Linked DNA regions of Homo sapiens: all the other regions are linked to region 3. Evidence: promoter capture Hi-C in 16 types of primary human blood cells and fetal thymus (Javierre and others, 2016). All regions are on one chromosome and are shown on one strand. The core of a region is centred on a gene start or on the middle of the fragment in contact, and the rest is flanking DNA. Distances in the headings are between cores, read along the strand shown. Region 1 holds the start of JADE1 (jade family PHD finger 1). Region 2 holds the start of ZCCHC4 (zinc finger CCHC-type containing 4). Region 3 holds the start of REST (RE1 silencing transcription factor). Region 4 holds the start of SEC31A (SEC31 homolog A, COPII component). Region 5 overlaps HNRNPD-DT (HNRNPD divergent transcript).

Evidence for each region. The method cuts DNA at HindIII sites, captures the fragments that hold promoters and counts their contacts. A CHiCAGO score of 5 or more calls a contact.
Region 1: the fragment with the promoter of JADE1 here is called in contact with the fragment with the promoter of REST in region 3 in 1 of 17 cell types (total B cells); the score reaches 5.5 in total B cells.
Region 2: the fragment with the promoter of ZCCHC4 here is called in contact with the fragment with the promoter of REST in region 3 in 1 of 17 cell types (total B cells); the score reaches 6.3 in total B cells.
Region 4: a fragment that was not itself captured here is called in contact with the fragment with the promoter of REST in region 3 in 1 of 17 cell types (fetal thymus); the score reaches 14.0 in fetal thymus.
Region 5: a fragment that was not itself captured here is called in contact with the fragment with the promoter of REST in region 3 in 1 of 17 cell types (fetal thymus); the score reaches 7.9 in fetal thymus.

What each region holds. Positions count from the first base shown.
Region 1 is chr4:128,808,287-128,810,986 of GRCh38, reverse strand. It overlaps JADE1 (jade family PHD finger 1), which reads right to left and starts at 1,287. Exons shown (of 11, transcript NM_199320.4): 1 at 1,110-1,287. RefSeq lists silencers at 355-474, 985-1,464 and an enhancer at 775-884. The HindIII fragment of the contact is 6,052 bases long and covers 1-2,071 here.
Region 2 is chr4:25,311,355-25,314,160 of GRCh38, reverse strand. ZCCHC4 (zinc finger CCHC-type containing 4) reads right to left here and starts at 1,387. Exons shown (of 13, transcript NM_024936.3): 1 at 1,225-1,387; 2 at 1-115. The coding sequence starts at 1,351. RefSeq lists enhancers at 1,269-1,328, 857-1,733 and silencers at 1,327-1,531, 1,539-1,608. The HindIII fragment of the contact is 7,197 bases long and covers 1-2,806 here.
Region 3 is chr4:56,906,511-56,909,210 of GRCh38, reverse strand. REST (RE1 silencing transcription factor) reads right to left here and starts at 1,311. Exons shown (of 4, transcript NM_005612.5): 1 at 998-1,311. RefSeq lists silencers at 85-934, 1,045-1,434, 1,534-1,828 and an enhancer at 925-1,854. The HindIII fragment of the contact is 2,443 bases long and covers 1-1,766 here.
Region 4 is chr4:82,890,256-82,893,023 of GRCh38, reverse strand. SEC31A (SEC31 homolog A, COPII component) reads left to right here and starts at 1,871. Exons shown (of 27, transcript NM_001077207.4): 1 at 1,871-1,936. The HindIII fragment of the contact is 1,056 bases long and covers 927-1,982 here.
Region 5 is chr4:82,375,401-82,378,100 of GRCh38, reverse strand. All of the region lies in intron 1 of HNRNPD-DT (HNRNPD divergent transcript), which reads right to left. Among named protein-coding and RNA genes, the nearest start is that of HNRNPD-DT, 2.2 kb to the right of the region's middle. The HindIII fragment of the contact is 3,405 bases long and covers 1-2,700 here.

The DNA.
Region 1 (2,700 bases), core at 38-2,537, about 72 Mb before region 3:
AGGAAGCAAGGAGACCAAGAGACCCCACCCCCACAATTTGCAGATGGTGCCAAAGGTTGCAATTTGCAATCCCCTTTAAGTTCACGATTAATCGGTACTTTGCTCTACCAACGCCAACTCCTACCCCATTTCATCGATTAAGGGGTTTTACACTTTACAAGCAGTCGCGCTGTAAGTAAAAGATCTGATCACTGGAAGCCCAGTTCGGAAGAATCTAATTGCCAAACTGTCCCTCCACCCCCACCCCCACCCCCCTCTCACTGCCCTTGAATTGATGCAATGAATATTTTGGACATGTGGTGACGCGGTGACAAGAGCCAGGGCTGCGGCCACCACACACAGATGTACCTACGCACACCTATGTTTGGACAAATACAGTCCCACCACACACACGGTCTCACACACTCTGGATTCATATATGTACGCGAACCTGCGTTCTGCCATTGCCATCTGTCTACCAAGTTGCTACTATGCTTTCCACTTTCATGCAGCCTAATGCACTTTGGCTTTCTAAAAAAAAAAAAAAAAAAAAAAAACCTATAAACTAAAGCCAACTTAAACTGGGCTTCTGCTCCTAAACGCGTTTAATTGATGATTCACCTGAAAACCGCATGTTCTTCGCAAATCCAAAAGAAGAAATAGCTCTAAGTCTTCAGCCCCCCAAATTTGAAAAAAAAAATCATAATAAAACTTACTGATCCAACATAGATCAATTCTCAGGATCCAAAAATCATCCTCTCCTCCTCCTCCGGCCCCCGCCCCGGCAATGCCCAAGTTACTGGTGGGATAGTAACGCTGCGCTCAGCGGCTGCCTCCCTCCCTCCTCGCTACAGATCGAGAACCCAATCTTTTGGCGCCATATTAATGACGTATTATATTATTTCCACTAGGCAGCGACCTTCGGCATTAAATTACTCCCGAGAACTCCCGAGCAAAGCAACAAAACCATCAAATATGGCTGAGCCTCTCGGCTCGTCCTGCAGCCGCCGCCGCCGCCGCCGCCGTCGCCGCCGCGGGACCGGGACGCGCACACGGACCCACACGCGGACACGCGCGGACACACGCGCGGCGCGCCCACCCCGCGCGCCCCCCGCGGCCCGCGCGCGTACCTGCTGCGGAGGGGTTCGGCCGAGGCGCTGGGCTGGGCGCCGCTCGCTCGCTCGGAGCTGCATGAGTTCGGGCCGCGGCGGGCGGGGAGCCGGGCGGGCCCCTGCTCTCGCCGGCGCGCACACACCGGGCACTCGCGCACGGAGGCACTCTCGGTCTGGCGTTTGGCTTGTTATGGAGGAAGGACTATGTGAATCAAACTCATTTCTGGGTCACTGCTGCCACAGGGGGGAGCACTTTAATCCCTTGCCAAAACGAGAGGGTGGGGACGGGAGGGCGGAGGGAGCATGCGGGGAGCCCGCGGCGCTGGGGCTCGGTCCCTCGTTAACTCTTCGCAGCCCTAGCCGCAGCCGGCTCAGCCTGCGCCAGTGGGGGCTCGCAAAGAACGGCACTGTTCAGCTCTTAGTCTCTTTCCTTACTTCACCCACCTTGTGAGCCTAGAAATTCTTGAGGTGTCTCCAAGCAAGTGGGTTTTTAAATTAGCCCCTTCAAACTGCTGTCCCAGTTTCAACTCTTGTCTGACATCTAGAAATGGATTCTTTCAGAATAGTTTAAAATTACGTAGATTAAAATATGGCTATTAAGATGTGTCATTTGGGTGAAAGGTTTTATTTTTAGGCTGAGTGGCAAAATAGTTGTTTGTAGTAACAGTTTTAGGGAGTTGCACATTAGGATGACATTTTTAAATAGAGAGAATCCAATTCTGAATAACATCTTTACCTAAATTTGTATGGAAGTGATCATTGCAAATGAGCATTAATTCATTAGAAGATATTATTTATAAATTGACACCACTTTATGTTACACATTACTACAGAATTGGACATCTTCTCCCAAATATGAGGAGTGAGCCTAATGCTAAAACTAGAATTGCAGACTAGTATCAGATCAGTCATCGGAGATTCATTTGGGGGTATTTATGTGTAAAAAGGAGTGGTTACTGATTTTCTGCAGAAGACAAGCTTGCTTTTTCATATAGAGGGCAACATACTTCTTTCATGGATTCATCTAGGGAAATAGAGGGGTATATGACATTCAACTTCAATAAGAAAAAAGTACGGATTAAAAACTCCCATTCAGGCCGGGCGCGGTGGCTCACGCCTGTAATCCCAGCACTTTGGGAGGCCTAGGTGGGCGGATCACCTGAGGTCGGGAGTTCAAGACCAGCCTGACCAACATGGATAAACCCTGTCTCTACTAAAAAATACAAAATTAGCCGGGCATGGTGGTACATGCCTGTAACCCCAGCTACTGGGGAGGCTGAGGCAGGAGAATCGCTTGAACCCGGGAGGTGGAGGTTGTGATGAGCCGATAATGCGCCATTGTGGTCCAGCCTGGGCAATAAGAGCGAAACTCCGTCTCAAATAAATAAATAAATAAATAGGAACAGTGATCACTAATTACAAAATTGAATATCGAACCCAAAAGGCATATGTGTCCACCGGAAGAATCTTTCTGAATATATCAGGTTTGATTTCATGTAATCCCACACCAGCCCAACTACCCACATCCAGACCCACATCCAGAACGTTATAATCTGATAAATGCGACAAAACAAAACTAATTGAGCCTTTCAGTTATTTTTCAGAAAAC
Region 2 (2,806 bases), core at 138-2,637, about 32 Mb after region 3:
TCATCTTCCCACTGAAAAAAATTACAGTCTTTTCTATCTCTACAGGCTGAACAGGCATAAAACCTCCGAGTTTCTTCTTTCCCTTGGGTCACCTTTACAAACAGAAGAGTGGGTCCTAGTTCCAGAATAGAAAAAAAAAAAAAAAGTGTCAAGTAATGGTCATCTACGTCAAGTTCTTAGTTTTCGCTGCCCTTAAATAAAATTTGTTTGAGCTTTAGGCACAATTTATCATAATTAAATCCATCTCTTTGGTTGGTTGTTTTTTGTTTTGTTAGGGTTTTTTGTTTTGTTTTCTTGAGACAGGGTCTCCCTCTGTCGCCCAGGCTGAAGCGCACTGGCACAATCATGGCTCACTGAGATCCTGCTTCCTAGCCTCAAGCGATTCTCCCGCCTCAGCATCCCGAGTAGCTGGGACTACAGTTGCGTGTCCCCAGCTGTTTTTCTTTTTTTGTAGACGGAGTGTCATCATTTTTGCCCGGGCTAGTCTCAAACTCCTGGGCTCAAGCGATCAGCCCGCCTCGGCCCCCCAAGTGCTGGAACTACAGGTGCACGCCACCACGCCGGCTTCTCTGTGTTTAATGAATGTTTCTTTTCTCTCTGTTACAACATTCCGGCAGTGACTACTTATAAATAATTTTTGAAAACCGGTCTCTTCAGAAAGAAAATGCTATTGTCGGTACAGTTGCTGTCTACGTTGTGAATATTACAAACCTGAGACTAAAACAAGGAAGGGACTCAGAGAATTGAGGACTTTGACATCTCTTGCGCGGTTACCCTTGCAGTGAAAACCTGAGCTTTGAGCTGGAAACGCCCACTTTCTGTAAGTTAGAGAAAAACTGAGTCTAGTTCGCAGGCAAGAATTACACTGTTTTTCTCCCTAATTTTTTATTTTTGAAGGGAGAGCAAATCAACAAATGAAATCCCCAAGTACTTGTCAACGAGAACTATTCAATACCATGCATTCTTCTCTTTGCCTACTTTTCTGCCCCTTCCCCCCAAAAGAGATGAAATAGTCCTGGAGCCAAAACCACAAGAGTGGAGACTTGCTCTGAATGTTTCTCAAGTAAGTTGAAAAACACCGCGTTCCGAGGAAGGAGTATTTTCTAGGCAGCACACTGGTGAGGGAAAGAGGCGGGTAAAAATACAGGAGCCCCAAAAGCCACTTCCAAGCCAACTCACACCCTCAGCGCCCGGCAGTTAGGCTGAGCCCAGACTCTGACCCACCGTGAGGGCACAGCGGGGCGGGGACGGCAGGATCCAAAGGAAGCACCACCTCCATTCCCGAGCTTCCCCGGCACCCTGCGCTGCCCTCTGCCTCCACGGCTTCAAACCCATTCCTGGAGGCCGCCATCTTCCCGCCGCCGTCCCGAAAGCCTCAGTACGAAACAAGAATGCTGAGAAAGAGCGCCCCCGCGACCCAAAGCGACCCACAGCGCCCCCAGGCGCTTAGGAGGAGCTTGGGCGGGGGCTGCCGCGGCGGAGGCCACGCCCCGAAACGCAGTCCCCGCCCACCTGGGGGCTGCACCTAAGCGGCCCCTAGCGGTGGGGCTCGCAGGTCACTTGCGGGACCTGTGCCATGAGCTCAGCGCATGAAGCACCCTCCTTTCTTAAGAATATAGCCAGGAAGTGAGATGATTCGAACAAAGACTTGGTTGTATTGTAGGTCCAAAAGGCAGCATTACCACCTCTGCCAAATAGCTGAAATGGCTGCAGCAGCTGTGATTTAAGGATCATTCTTTGTTTTTCAAAGTCACAGTCACTGCATCATCCTCTGTAACTTTTGGACAATGCTGAAAGTTGCACATCATAGTTGCATACTCATTGACATTTATACATAAGAAAGAAAGAAAACCGTCCTGATTTGCAGATGACATGATTGTCCACATTTTAAAAATCCGAAAGAATCTATCAGGAAAACACCTCCGGTTTAAACTGAGTTCAGCAAGGTTGCAGGATATGAGATAAACACACAAACATCAACTGGATTTCTAAATACTAGCAATGATCACAAGAACACTAAAAAATAGAATACCACTTACAATCACTCAAATAAATGAAATAGGTGTAAATCTAACGAAATATGTACAGAGCTTTATGTATGCTAAAAACTCCAAAATGCTTGATTAAAAAAAATCAAGGCTGAGTGCAGTGGCTCACACCTGTAATCCCAGCACTTTGGGGGGCCAAGGAGGGAGGATTGCTTGAATCCAGGAGTTCGAAACCAGCCCGGGCAACAAAGCGAGACGACATCTCTAAAATAAATAAGCAATTTTTAAAGTTTTTTAAAAATCAAAGAATAGCCGGGCACGGTGGCTCACGCCTATAATCCCAGAATTTTGGGAGGCCAAGGCAGGTGGATCACAAGGTCAGGAGATCGAGACCATCCTGGCTAACACCGTGAAACCCCGTCTCTACTAAAAATACTAAAAATACAAAAACAAAAAAATTAGCCAGGCGTGGTGGCGGGCACCTGTAGTCCCAGCTACTCGGGAGGCTGAGGCAGGAGAATGGCGTGAACCCGGAAGGCGGAGCTTGCAGTGAGCCGAGATTGTGCCACTGCACTCCAGCCTGGGTGACAGAGTGAGACTCCGTCTTAAAAAAAAAAAAAAAAAATCAAAGAATAAACAAATGCAGAAACATACTGCATTCATAAATCAGAAGACTCAACATAGTAAAGATATCAGTTCTCCCCAGGTTTAATGCTTATACAGGTGTAGCACAATTGCTATGAAAATCCCAGCCAGATTCTTTTTGTACATTTAGACAATATTCTGAAATTTATATGGAAAGGCAAGGGAACTAAAAT
Region 3 (2,700 bases), core at 62-2,561:
GCGGGAGTCGCCCCGACACTCGTCCTGAGCCTTTTCCTGCGCTCTCCAACACTAAAACGGGGGAGGGGATCAAGCTCGAGGCGCTGTTTGGCCGGAACCAGTCCTCCCCGAGTCCAGGCAGCCCCCTCCCCAGCCCTAGGGCCCCCGTCCCGGGAGAGGACGGAAAGTTACCGCGCAGCCGGCGTCCGGGCTTCTCCGACCGCCCCCGGGCCCCTCCGACCGCCCCGGGGCTCGCCCAACGCCCAGGGCCGGGGAGGCTCCGCGGGCGCCCTCGCGAGGCGTCGGGCTCCGAGCGCCGGAGGGGGCCCCCACACGGGCCAGCCGCCACCCCCGCGCCCCGGAAGTTTGCGAACTTCACTCCCCCACGGCGCCCGGCAGGACGCGCGCCCCAGCCCCGCCAGCTCCAGCGGTCGGGTGGCCGGACGCGGGGGCCAGCGGCGCCGGACGGCTGAAGCGCAGAAATCGCTGTCCAGCCCCGCAGGCGGAACCGCCCGGGCCCCGGGGCTGACTCAACCCGCCCGGCCGCACTCAACGGCGCCTTCCGGCGACAGGGAGAGGCCCTGGGGGAGGGGGCCAGGAGGGCCGCGGGCCGGCGCGGGGCTGCGGTGGGACCCGGGGGCAGGAGGAGGAAGCAGAGGAAGTTTCAGGACTACGGGCCCGAGCAGCTCCGCTCCTTGGCCTCAAAGGACCTGACTCGGTGGAGCGTCCGGGCCAGCGCGGAGGCGGCGTCCCAGCCTCCAGTGGGGAGGGGGTCCAGGCGACGCGCTGCTCCCAACAAACGCCCCCAGCCCCCGGGCGGCTGCTGTGTAACCCGATCCTGCTCGGCCGCCAGCCCCCGCCCGGCGGGGCCGCCGCCGCCGGAGCCACAGTATCTGCAAATCAGCCCTGGACAGCGCCTGACTCCGCGTCCTTCCGCGCCCTCCCCGTCCCGCCACTGCCGCCGCCCGGGCGGCCCTCCCCCACCCTGACCGAGCCCCCAGCCCAGCGCCCCACTTACCGGCCTTCCTCGGTGAGGAGGGGCGGGCGACCCTGAGTCGCCGCTCCTTCTCCGACTACTTTTCTTTGTTGCTGGAGTTTCGGGGGAGAGGTGGGGGAGGGTGGTAAAGTTGGGTGCTGGGGCCGTCGTGGACCAAGAAGGCCCAGGAGTGGGGCTGCAGAGGGTGCTCAGGCCTCCGGGCCTCGCCCTGCCGTCTCGGCTGCGGCAGCCGCCGCCAGGGTCTGGGGCCCCGGGCCTCGGCGGCGCTCGCTCCGCTGCTGCGCCGCGAGCTCGCGGCAGCCGCACATTCCAACACAGGACGCTGCGCCGCGCACCCAGTCCGCGCCGCCGCCGCCGCCACCGCCCGCGGGACACGCCCCCTCCGACGCCCGCGCGCGCCCGCGAGACACGCCCCCTCCGACGCCCGCGCGCGTGGCCGCTAGGCGCGCCCCGCCCCTCTACCAAGCAAGGAGTGCCCCAGTCTCCAGCTCGCCTGGGGGCGCGTCTAGGGGGAGCCGCCCGTAATCCTCCCGGCCCCTCACTCCTGCCCTTAGGTCAGAAAAGAGGCGGGCCCCACTCCCTTTCTCGATTTCTATTACAAACAAACAACAAAAGTTCCCCCCAGCCCTGGCGTGCATGCATGAGAATAGAGCTGTTAAAAGAAGAATCCGCAGGCTTTGACGGGTCTCTTTAGAGCTATTGTCACCGGCCTCTCAAGTCTAAAGCGCTCCAAGATACCCTTCAGATCTCTTCAAGTCTCCACCCATAGCTGTCCTTGACTAATTAAGCTTCGTTTTAAGCGTCTGCGGTAAAAAAAAAAAAAAAAAAAAAAAGTCTTCCAAATTTCAAACTACCGGAGGGGGAATGCAGTCAGTTTGGGAGAAGTGAGAAGAAAACGTTTCAGGAAGGAGGTTATGGACTCAGAAAGCGTGAGCGTGAGGACTGAGGGGACAGATCCCTAGACGTGGCAGGTAGCAGGTCATTGCTGAGCCCGGAAAGCACGACTGCAGGGGAGGAATTACCCTCAGATGACAGAAGAAAAGGTGGTGAGGACGGGGAGGCTGCCTGGGGCCACGGTGTGTCGGAGTAACCGGGCTCACGTCTATGAAGCGGGATAACCAAGCGGAATGCCTAGCCCATAGTCATGTGCTAACAAAAACAAAAACAACAAAAAAGAACAGAGAGAGAGTAATTCCACCCCCTTTCACACCTGAAAGAGCTTCTCAGTCTGCCTTTGATACCTTCCTAAACGTCAGTCGTAAGTCACACCTGTCCTCAGAAGCATAGTGGCTCCCCATGACTACAAGCTTAAAGCTTAAACCCCTTAGTGTGGCGTTCAAGCCCCTACTTAACTTGACCTAGATAAGTCTGACTATTGCTTGGTATTACAACATAAGTAGCAAGTGCTATGGGGGTTTGCCAGTAGGAAGATGGATCCCAAGAGGTTCTAGAAACTTTTCACAGTAGATGTATTCAGTCTGACCTTGGAGAATGAGGAAAACTTCAACAGGTGGAAAGTAGGGCAAGGAACACTCTACACAGTGAAAAGGGCAAGCTCAAAATCCCAAAGCAGTTGTTAAGACATCCCAGCTTCTCCTCAGGGTACCTCACTTCCTTCTCTTTGAAGTTCCTTTATTTGTTTCTCTTAGGGCAGGGCTTCCAGACTCTTCATTTCCTGGTATACCCACGTAGGACCTCTGTTTCCCTCTATCTGGACAATATAT
Region 4 (2,768 bases), core at 205-2,704, about 26 Mb before region 3:
TCTCTCCAAACATTCTTCTAGTGAGCAATTCAGTTTTTATTTGATTCAGGATTAGGCTTGGATAGTAGTTAACTAAATTGGATTTAGTTTTGTGAACTAAAGAGTTTTTCTTTTTTTAGATACAGGCAGTCTTTGCACAGTTCCAATATGCATAAATACCAGTGACCACAGTTAAATAAAACCAGTCCAACAATGTGGTTAATAATTCCATTACCACAGTACTGAGAAAACTTGCATAAATTTTGCTGCTAGCTCTTTAGTCCACAAATCATTGTGCCCCCCCCCCCAAAAAAAAGATGTGCATCATGATCAGTCGCCAGTTACATTACTTTGCTTTCAAAGTTTGTTGATTTGTTACTGATCATCTGTTTAGTTCATGCACAGATAGCAGAGCACAAAGTGCATAGTACTGTTGCCTCCTTGACCCCAGAGATTAAACTTGTGACCATTTATAAAAATGGATAATTAAAAGAGGTAATTGGTCAACAAAGGACAGAGCAGCAAAGAAAAGTGATAATGCTGGAAGTGAAATTGGATGTGATTAGATTTGAAAGTGGTGACAGCAAAGCAAAGATAGGTTGAGACCCAGACCTGCATGAAGCTGTAATACAAGCCTATTGAAAAAGTCTGATAAATGTAAAAAGGTAAAGTTGCTTCAACGTCTTTCAGTTTTAATTGCACTAGGAACAGAAAGCTGCTTGCGGTTGAAATGGAGCATTTACTTGTTTGAATTGAAGACTAATCAAAAACAAATCCCAATCAGTTTGACTAGCATTCAGGCCAAAGTGATAACCTTAGTTACTGCGTTGAAAGAAAATGGTAATTAGAAGACTGAAAGAGAATATATTACTACCAGTAAAAGTTGGGTTCATTATTTCAGAAGTTGGCGTGAATTGATGTTAAGCTGTCTTATGAAGCTGCAAGCTTCAGATGGAATGTTACAGAAGATGTAGCTGACTGTGGGAATGTTAACACTGCTGCTGTTCAAGGGGCAGGATCCTTCTGCTTTAGCTACCCAAAGTGCAAGAGTTGGCTTTGAATGCTAGATGTAATGAGAAAAGAACTTGTCTAGAAGTTAGGAGATCTGGGTTGAATCCAATTTCTGGTAATTTAGCAAGTGATTTTCCTTTGGCTTCACCTTGCTGTAAAATAATTCCTCCCTAAACTAAAAGTACACTTAGGCAACGCATCTAATTAGATTTGAGGTTGTGGAGAAACAGTGGCAGAAGGTGAGTGCTACCGGGTCTCAATACCATGGGATAGTAACAAGTATGAAACGGTACTAATTGGAATTAATATAACACCCCATCTATACCTCTTTGTCCACAATAGCCTTTGGGAATGCCCAGATTGTTTCACTTTGTATAAGTTCTCAAAACGCCAGAATGTGCAATCAAGTGGGTAATTTTAAGAACTCAGTCACAAATTACAATAAAGCCCTTGCAGCCCGATTTTCCACCTGGTTTGGCGCGGGCAGTGTCGCCAGGGGCTGCCGACGCCTCACAGGACTAGTGCTACGTGGCGTTCCTGCGGGCCACGGCGGTTATTCGGCCAGACGGGGACACCCTCTGCACTAGTCCTTTACCCACTAGTCCTGGCTACCCCATCCACATTCTGCGCGCCGCCCCTCAGAAAAGGGTTTCTACGATCGCCGGGGCGCGATGACCGCAGAGCGCCACCAACCAGCGGAGCCGTACCCCGCCTCCCAGGCTACCGCCGGTCCCGGAAGTGCCGTGGCGGGCTGTGCGTCGGGTGGGCGGGGAAAGATGTCGCTCCCGGAAGTGTTGGGCGCAGGGCGTGGCTGCGGCTGCGGCTGCCACGTTGGAACGGAACGTGGAGGTGGCCCTGGCCGGGGAGGAGGGGCGGCGGCGAATGCTGGGAGAGTCCGACGAGCGCTGCACTAACGCAGGATCCGGCTGCCGAAGGTCCTCGCCAGGTGCGTCCGCCCGTTGCTTTTTGTCCTCTTCGCCGGTCCTTAAGCTTTGAGGTAGAGCCCAGGCCAAAACTGGGACCGCAGCCTGGGTCTCCGCTGCCCCGCACCAGCCTGAGGCCCGGTCTCTGGTGACGGCGCGCCCCTAGTCTTGGTTTCGGGCCCGGCGGAACAACGCCTGGCATCTGGACTCCAGTGATCGCGCCCGTCCGCATTCGCCGACGTCTCCACTGCTGAGCAAAAGCCACCCGAGGCTGGCGACAGTGTCTTGCCGGGGAGTAGTAGCCGGGCTGGTAACTGGAGTTTGAGATTAGGAGACTTTCAGACCCTTGTGCACAAAGAGGTGCGGTCCCCGAGGGTGAGGAGAGGAAAAAAAATCTCAGGATTACTTTGGCTTTGGTTAGGATTTTTTTTTGTACTTGAACTATTGCCAGATTTAAAGGTTCATAGGTTTGAACTGACGTCTACTGTCATTTAACTAGGATTATTTTAAGGACGGTGGTAGCCAGGCGCAGCCTGTACTTTGAGGGCAGTCTCATTAAGTGTTACATGTTTTTGCTAATAAGTTGTTAAATTACGGGGCTGTTGTAAAATAAACCAAAATATTGCCTGGACTTGTGGGCATTATAAATTTTTTCTTGCGCTTAAGGAATTAATTTTACGTAGGGCTATTTGAAGTTGCAGTGATCTGATAGTCTGTGACAAATCCTTTCTCCTAACTTATTTTTTCTAACTATAGAAAACTGAAATTTGGTTGTCTTTGTGGGCAGTTATAACTGTATTTAATCGATAAGGGTGTGTTCTTGTTACAGCGTCCTGCGTTTTCTGTACCTCCGTT
Region 5 (2,700 bases), core at 32-2,531, about 25 Mb before region 3:
AAGTACTTTAGTTTTTGCTGCAGAGAATAATTGCTTTACAAAGGCTAAATTCAATGATGATCTAGCATTTTAGTGTGTTATCTGAAACACACTGGGAATCTCCTAAAGCAATGGAATAGTTCATGTCTGTACATTGACAGGGGATATTCCTTCCTTCTACTGTTTGGGGCAAGTCCAATACAGCATCTCCAGCCACTTAAACAATTAATTGTTACCTATGAATGTGTAACAAAAAGTTTCATTTCATTCTCAAGAAATTTCATACATCCATCACCAGGTCATTTGAAGAAGCGTTTCGTTGTTGTTGTTGTTTTTGAAACAGGCTCTTGCTCTGTCGTCCAGACTGGAATGAAGTGGCATCACTGCTCACTGCAGCCTTGAATTTTTGATTCAAGCAATCTTCCCACCTCAGCCTCCTGAGTAGCTGGAACCACAGGCTCACGCCACCACACCCAGCTAATTTTTTTTTTTTTTGAGACATAGTTTCACTCTGTCACCCAGCTTGAGTACAGTGGTGCAGTCTCTACTCACTGCAACCTCTGCCTTGTGGGTTCATGTAATTTTCCTGCCTCAGCCTCCCCAGTAGCCAGGATTACAGGCGTGCGCCACCACGCCCAGCTTATTTTTGTATCTTCAGTAGAGATGGGGTTTCACCACATTGCCCAGGCTGCTCTCGAACTCCCGGCCTCAAGTGATCCACCCACCTCGGACTCTCAAAGTGTTGGGATTAGAGGCGTAAGCCACCGCACCCGGCAACAGAAACGGGTTAAACACAACCCAAGGCGTCCCTGGGTGGGCAGGAACTGATTTTTTAAATTTTTTGTAGAGATAGGTTTTGCTATGTTGCCGGGGCTGGTCTCAAATTCCTGGCTTGGCCGGGCGCGGTGGCTCACACCTGTAATCCCAGCACTTTGGGAGGCCGAGGCGGGCGGATCACGAGGTCAGGAGATCGAGACCGTCCTGACTAGCACAGTGAAACCCCGTCTCTACTAAAAATACAAAAAAAATTAGCCGGGCGTGGTGGCAGGTGCCTGTTGTCCCAGCTACTTGGGAGACAGGAAGGAGAATGGCGTCAACCCGGGAGTGAGCCGAGATCGCGCCATTGCACCTCCAGCCTGGGCAACAGAGTGAAACTCTGTCTCAAAAAAAAAAAAAAAAAAAAAAAAATTCCTGGGCTCAAGCAATCATCCCTCCTTGGCCTACCAAAGTGTTGGGATTATAGGCATGAGCCACAGCACCTGGCCAAAAGTTTTTTTTTTTTTAATGCCAGAGATGAAATGAGATGGTGTGGAGAGGAGACTTTCAAGTCCCTGGAAGAACACCTAGTTTGCTTGAAAGCCCCTTAATCTAACAAGTTGGACATACTTATTATTTTGTCATTCAATAATTCAACTGGCAATTACATAGTGTGGATATACTGCTGCTGTGTTTATGTGTGTGTGAGAGTGTGTTAGGGAGGGAGAGATACATAGAAGACACTGTTTTCTAAGAACTCATGGTCTAGTAGAAAACAATGAAGAATAACAGAGGTAAAGATAAAGGGCTGTGAAAAGGGATCATTAATTCTGCCTCAGGAAGCCTGGGAAGACTTCACATAAATAGTAACATTTGTTTGTTTTTGAGACAGGGTCTCACTCTGCCTTTCTCACTGCAGCCTCCACCTTCCAGGTTCAAGTGATCCTCCCACTTCAGCCTCAGGAGTAGCTGGAACAACAGGAACCACCATGCCAGGTTAATTTTCTGACTTTTTGTAGAGGCAAGGTCTCACTCCGTTGCCCAGGCTGATGGCCAACTCCTTGAGGCAAGCAATCCTCCCGACTTGGCCTCTCAAAGTGCTGGATTACAGGCGTGAGCCACCACGCCTGCCAGAAGTTAAGTGAGTTCCAAGAAGAATATTGTGTGGATGCAGGAGCACATCCTGGATGTAGAGATCTTGGCCATAATATCAAGGACTATCAGTGATATGGACATCATACATCCTCATAAAGCATGTAAAGGTGTTAGCTTTAAAATCATTCCTAGGTTGTCTGGAACTTTTGACATAAATTCTAAGAATTCCAGAAGCTCCTAAGCTACATGTGAAATCAAAATGAACCTTTTGGAAAAGTCACTATTACCAAAAGGTGGGTATGTCTAATGATATCTTAAGATCAAAATAAATGACAATTACCGTCACTTGAGCCAGAAAAGATTAAACAGACTTCCCTTCAGTCAATCATCTTAGTTGTATCTAACCCGGAATATATGGTTTGAGCACCATATCCACTTTATCCTTTGCTAATATTCTGGCAGGTGGAGACAAATGTGGAGTCACTACCACTTTACGGTAAACATTCTTGGTATTACCTTTATGTGACTTGATTATTACGGGAGTTTGGTAAGATTATATTTTTAGGACGTTTTCAGAATTTGACCTGTATTCTTGAGTTTTAATTATTCTGTAATGTAAATTCTACTAACTTGATTAATAAAACTTACTTATAATCTTCCTTTGAGATTTTTGGATAGTGTCCAATTAATACAAATTCGTTTAACTGCAGTGGAAAATACCTAAACTTTTTTTTTTTTTTTTTTTTTGAGACGGAGTCTCGCTCTGTCGCCCAGGCTGGAGTGCAAGTGGCATGATCTCGACTCCCTGCAATCTCCACCTCCCGGGTTCAAGCGATTCTCCTGCCTCAGCCTCCTGAGTACCTGAGATTA